2 separate regions of the Homo sapiens genome follow, and region 2 is linked to region 1. The links are contacts of gene promoters, found by promoter capture Hi-C in human tissues and cell types (Jung and others, 2019). All regions are on one chromosome and are shown on one strand. Each heading gives the region's core, a stretch centred on a gene start or on the middle of the fragment in contact. The rest is flanking DNA. Distances are from core to core; before and after follow the strand shown. Region 1 holds the start of EFCAB6 (EF-hand calcium binding domain 6). Region 2 overlaps SCUBE1 (signal peptide, CUB domain and EGF like domain containing 1).

Region 1 (2,700 bases), core at 14-2,513:
GGGATCCAGGACACAGTTAGAGGGACTGGCCTCTGTAAGAGACCCTCTTTTGGGGCAAGAGGAAAAGAGGCGATGAATGCCAAAGTGATTGTGAAGGAGTGCATTCCATTCTTATGCATTACATTTTCTCAATGGGATAAGACCCATGGTCATTGAGTCCGGTGAGGAAGTAGTGAGTGCGGGAGGTCTGAGACAAGCCATGGGAAAGAATTCTCTTGGTGAACAGGAAAACTAGCTGCCCAGTGAAGTAGTCAGAGTGCCCAGCAGGGACCGCATAGTATCCATCTTTGCAGCACACACCAGGGCACCTAATTGACCTGCCGCAGCCATGTGTGCAAGGAATTCCAAGCTGCACACGTCTGCCTGGCTGCTTCTCTCCCACAGTGAGCAGTGTGGCAGGGTGCCTAAGAGCAAGCTCCATAGGTTCTCATTCTGCTCCTACCCCTGACTGGCAGTGTGTCCTTGAACAAAATGCTCTGTGTGCCTCAGTTACCTATCTGTAAAATGGGAGTAACCACAGCACCCACCTCACAGGGTTGTTGTGAAGACAAATGAAGATGACAATTACATGTAAAGTACATACCTAGGATGGGTGAGTGCCTGGCAAGGGAAGTGCTCCATAGGGTCAGCGACAACAATTACATTCACTCACGTGATTTATGGCGCTTCCACTCGGCCCTCTGTCTTAGTAATAATTCACTCATTTAGCGAATATCAATGGAATGGATGCTTACTGTGGGTATGGGCGGAGGCTGAGGTTACAGCCTGGGCAAAGCAGGCCAGCTCCCGTCCTCACCGGCTGTCTCCTCGAGCAGACAAGCGGACCCAGTGAGACCCGCTACGTGGTGGCACAATGCGAGTCCCCATGACTGCTCACCCTAACGAAGGCGCAGGATGCGGTAGGGGCTTTGCGGACCTCACTGCAGCCAATCCTGACCACAGGCCCCAGTGGGCACGCTTAGCCTTTTACAGATGCAGAGTCTGCTTCTCAGAGCAGGGGGCTGACTTCCCCCGGCTACACGGCCCTATGCAGTTCGGTGGGACCGGGCCGACCGCCCAGCTCGCGCTAAAGCCCACGTAACAGAAACCCGCTCCCATGACACGGGTCGCCAGGGTTCCCGCTCCCCAGAGAACGGGACTTCCGGCGGAAATTTCTTCCGGGAGCGGAGGCGCGGGACTGACCTGGCCCCGCCCCCTCCTCGTTTATCTCCAATTGACCAATCACAGCTCAGCTTCTTGCCAGGCGCGTAGGCTCATTCTCCAGTCAGCGACTGCCGTCGTCTCTCGGGCAACAGCGTCCTAGAGACGCCGAATGGGCAGCCCCTCTGAGACCCCGCGGCTTGGGGTCCGCGCACGCGGGTGCCGGCCCAGCTAGGCGGAGAATCGAGGAGGGGTTCCCGGTAAGGCTGTATTCGGGGTGGCCACGCGCGTGCGACAGGCCGAGGAGGGGCCGGGCGGGCGGGCAGCTCCGTGGGTCTCACTGCCCTGAGAAGGCCGGCGCTGCTGCCCACCCCCAGGGACGAAGGGGTGGTGATTCGTTTATTCAGGTGTTCATGGCGCGTCTGCTTGTGCCAGGCATGTTGTAGGCCCTGGGGCCCTGTGGGGAACAGTAGGGCCCCTGTTCCCGTAGCTTACCTGATATGTGGAGAAGAACGATAAACAACGCTGACGGTGGTGACGTCTTCTTCCCTGCCTCTCTGTGAGAATCAGCTGGGAAATGTGTGTGGAAACGCCCTAAATCTCTCCAGTTTACAACATGTCTCATGCCCCTGATTTCATTTGTGCCCACAGCAGTCTTGTGAATGTCATGATTGACTCCCTCCTGTAGACAGACGAGGACTTGAAACCTGTGGGGTGAAGGGGCTTTTCCAAAGTCACACAACTATCTTAGGAAGTTTCTGAGCCAGAATTCAAACTCATTTCTGTATCACGGCAAAATCTCTGCTCTTTTACACTCTTCTCCCACAGCCTGCACATAATTACCCCTGCCTCCCTCAGAAATTTTGTTTGGAAGCACTTTGTGAGGTATACATCTGTATAGGGCTTACTTGAAGGTTGTCCAAATCACCCCTCTCTCTACTCCCTTCCTTTCTCTCCAAATCTTTGCCTTTCAGGATGTCTTGCCCCTGTTAAGAGGACTCTTCTTTTCTTTTCTTTTTTCTTTTCTTTTCTTTTCTCCCTCCCCTCCCCTCCCTTCCCTTCCCCTTTCTTCCCTTCCTCCCCTCCTCTCTCCTCCCCTCCCCTTCCCCTCCGCTCCCCTCCCCTTCCCTCCCCTCGCCTCTCCTTTTCTTTCCTGATGGAGTCTTCCTCTGTCACCCAGGCTGGAGTGCAGCGATCCCAGCTCACTGCAACCTCCACCTCCCGGGTTCAAGCGATTCTCGTGCCTCGGTGTCCCAAGTAGCTGGGATTACAGGCGCCTGCCACCACGCCCAGCTAATTTTTGTATTTTTAGTACAGACGGGATTTCACCATGTTGGCCAGGTTGGTTTCAAACTCCTGACCTCAAGTGATCCATCCGCCCGCCTTGGCCTAATTTAATATGTGTTCCTAAATGGGTGGCCTTAACAGAAATGCTGTAAATCAATTCTACTTTCATACACTACAGTTCATGTCTTTTATCCATTGCCTTCAATTCAGCAAACGTTTACTTGGCTAAGTTCTGGGGATATGAAAGTGAGTCAGAAATGGCCCCTTTGATTA
Region 2 (2,700 bases), core at 176-2,675, 570 kb after region 1:
CTGTATGTATAACCAGACATGTTCAATGTTCCCGGCAACCTGCAAGGTTTAGTGTTACAGATAAGGAAACCGAAGCTCAGAGAGGTGAGAGCAGCTCTTCCAGTTCCCTCTATCCTACACCCCTTCCCCTCCAGGGGCAGGCAGGTGATAGCTCTGCCTCCCCAGGCTTTGCACAGGGCCTGGCATGAGCCTGATCAGTGAGTGTGAGCTGCTGTTGATCAGATCCCCAAGCCTCCCTGGGCACACACAGCTGGAGGGTCCGCCTGGTGCACGGAAGAGCACTGGCCCAGCTGCTTCCCAGCTGCCTGCCCTCACCAGCTCCTTCCCCTTACCGCATCTCAACCCTCCAAGCCTCCTGGGGCACGGCCATGATGCCTCCTGTGGGTGGGCCCCAGGGATCCCACCCACAGGGGAGCCCCCTTGTCTGCCCTAAGCACCCTTCACTGAGGAGCCAGGGTAGAGGCAGGAAGTGAAGGAGGCAGGGCAGGGGGAGACTGGCCACTGGAGGCCCTGCTCCTGCCACCTGCTTTAATATGAAACCTCCCTGTCCTCCAAGGGGCACTCGGGACCCCTCAAACCAAGTGAGGAGACCTCTCCTGAGGTCGGCTTGTCTTGCTCCTGGGTGGGCATCTTCCATACACCTGGTGCCACCAGCCCTCAGGCCTCCCTGCAGCCCCCATGCCACAGTCCTGCAGGGCACCGTCCCTCCATCCCAGTGGCTTCTGCTTTCTGAGCAGGTGCGGGAACACCCACCCGCCCACTAGTCACGAGAGAAGGTGGCTTGCCACACTCCTAGCGCATCCTGGAATTGAGGCCCCGCCTGCTGCCTTGGAAGACAGTGCCACTGACAATAATTTGCCTTGCAAATTGTTCCCCAAGCAGCACGGTTCTCAGGTAGACGGAGGCCCTAAGGATGGTGCAGGCCTGTGGGCCTTTTATTTCAGCAGGGCCGGGCTAAGGTCAGCAGAGGGCCAAAATGGGCCTCAGAGTCACGGGGCTGTGTACTAAAAAGGCAGAGTCCAGGAGACCCTGGGCTGCCTCAGAGGCCTGGGTGGCCCTTGGGGATCATGGGCGTTGGGGCCCCGCAGCCTTAGACACGAGCAGCGCTGGCTCTGGAGGAGCCTGCCGGGGTGTCCTGTCCCGTGTTCTCCTTGAGAGCCACTTCCTTGTCAGGGCTGCAGCCTCCACAGTCACCCTGCGTCCAGCCACACTTGAGCCCCACCCCACCCGCGCCACCACCTGCATGCACTGTCACCAGCGTGTCCCCAGGCAGCCCTGGGGCAGACCCAGCCGGCACCCCCCCAGCAGACAGGTCTCAGGATTGACCATTTGCCCAGTGGAGGTAGAGGCAGGCGGGGAGGCGTGGTCAGGACCAGGCGCGGCCCTCTGCTGAGGGTGTCAAGTTCCCTCCACCACACCCTGCTGACTGTCAGAGGCGCAAGGGAGGCCACATTCGTGGTGCCCAGCACAGCGCTGGCCATAAGGCTGCTGCACAACACTAGTGACGGGCCACAGGGCCTCCCCGGAGTTCAGAGGGCCCCTCGGGAGATAGGCCAGCCAGGGAGACCAGGGCCACTGTGTCAGGGGCTTGCCAGGGAGCACGGCGTGGCTTTTATCCCAAAGCGATGGGAGCCATGGAGGGTTCAGCAGCCAGCTGTGGGAAGATGGTCAGAGGTCAGAGGTCCCCAGATCTGCCGGAAGGGCCGGCCAATCCCTTTTCACCGCAGCTTCTGTTGATTCTAGGGACAGAAGGGCAGGTGGGCCAGCCCTGATTGAGGGATCAGCAGGTTCTGGCGAGGACCCCGGGCTGCCCCCATCATCAGGGTAGGCCACTGAGGGGCAGGGAGGAAGAAGGGATGGCAGGGCCTTTGTGGGACGCTGGGCCCATGCCAGACCCACCGGATCAGAGCCTCTGCCCTGGTGAAAAGCACCTCAGCGATGTTCAGGCACAACACAGGTGGGAAACCCAGGGCCTAGGGAGGGGAGGGTCCTTTGCCCACAGTCCCCCCGTGTGCTGGCACTGAGCCTGGCACCCACACCCACTTCCCATTGTGCACCACAGAGCGCCCTTGTGCCCTGCACAGCGCAGCACCACACTGCCTCCTCCACCAGGGGCACATTCGCCCTTCAGTCCTGCCCACCTCGCCTCCCAGCTCACTCTCCCTTCCAGGCCCAACAGAGGGTAGGGTCCCAGTTCCCAGACTTGCTTCTGTTCCTCTTGGGGCCTCCAGAGTCCCTGCTCATTAATCTAGTCATTGAGCACAACTCATTAGACACCTCCGCCGTGCTGGTCACCTTGACGCTGCCCTGCCCAGATAGCGTGTGGTCAGTGGGAGAGGCCTCTGCACACACAGACAGCGCTGCCCTGTGGGGCAGAAGCCCAGGGTAAGGCTCGGGACAGCTTTCGGGGAGGCAGGTGGGGCCTGCTGTGTCCTGAGGAGTTGGTTATTCAAGGCCAAGGGGGGTGCCCTGTGGAACCCTGAGGAACCGTGCTGGGGTGTGGCGGGGCATGGGCTGGGAGGTGGGCAGTGTGAGAGGAAGGCGCAGACCCAGGAGAGAAAGGCGAGGTCTGGGCCTTATTTCATGCCCCCCGCCACTCCATAAACTGTTGACACCTGGGGCATGTCACATTCATCTCTGTAGCTCCCCTCTCCCGGCCACCTAGCACCGTGAAATTGACCCGCCTGTGAAGACCAGTGG

What was found. Contacts are between HindIII fragments. The study calls those that stand out against the background at their distance.
Region 2: a contact is called between a fragment that was not itself captured here and the fragment with the promoter of EFCAB6 in region 1, in 1 of the 25 tissues and cell types used here (lymphoblastoid cells).

What each region holds. Positions count from the first base shown.
Region 1 is chr22:43,810,868-43,813,567 of GRCh38, reverse strand. EFCAB6 (EF-hand calcium binding domain 6) reads left to right here and starts at 1,263. Exons shown (of 32, transcript NM_022785.4): 1 at 1,263-1,400. It overlaps EFCAB6-DT (EFCAB6 divergent transcript), which reads right to left and starts at 1,146. Exons shown (of 2, transcript NR_186822.1): 1 at 584-1,146. RefSeq lists enhancers at 1-657, 899-1,168 and a silencer at 1,500-1,741. The HindIII fragment of the contact is 13,383 bases long and covers 1-2,700 here.
Region 2 is chr22:43,243,981-43,246,680 of GRCh38, reverse strand. The region is part of intron 6 of SCUBE1 (signal peptide, CUB domain and EGF like domain containing 1); the gene reads left to right. Among named protein-coding and RNA genes, the nearest start is that of SCUBE1-AS1, 31 kb to the left of the region's middle. The HindIII fragment of the contact is 3,857 bases long and covers 1-2,700 here.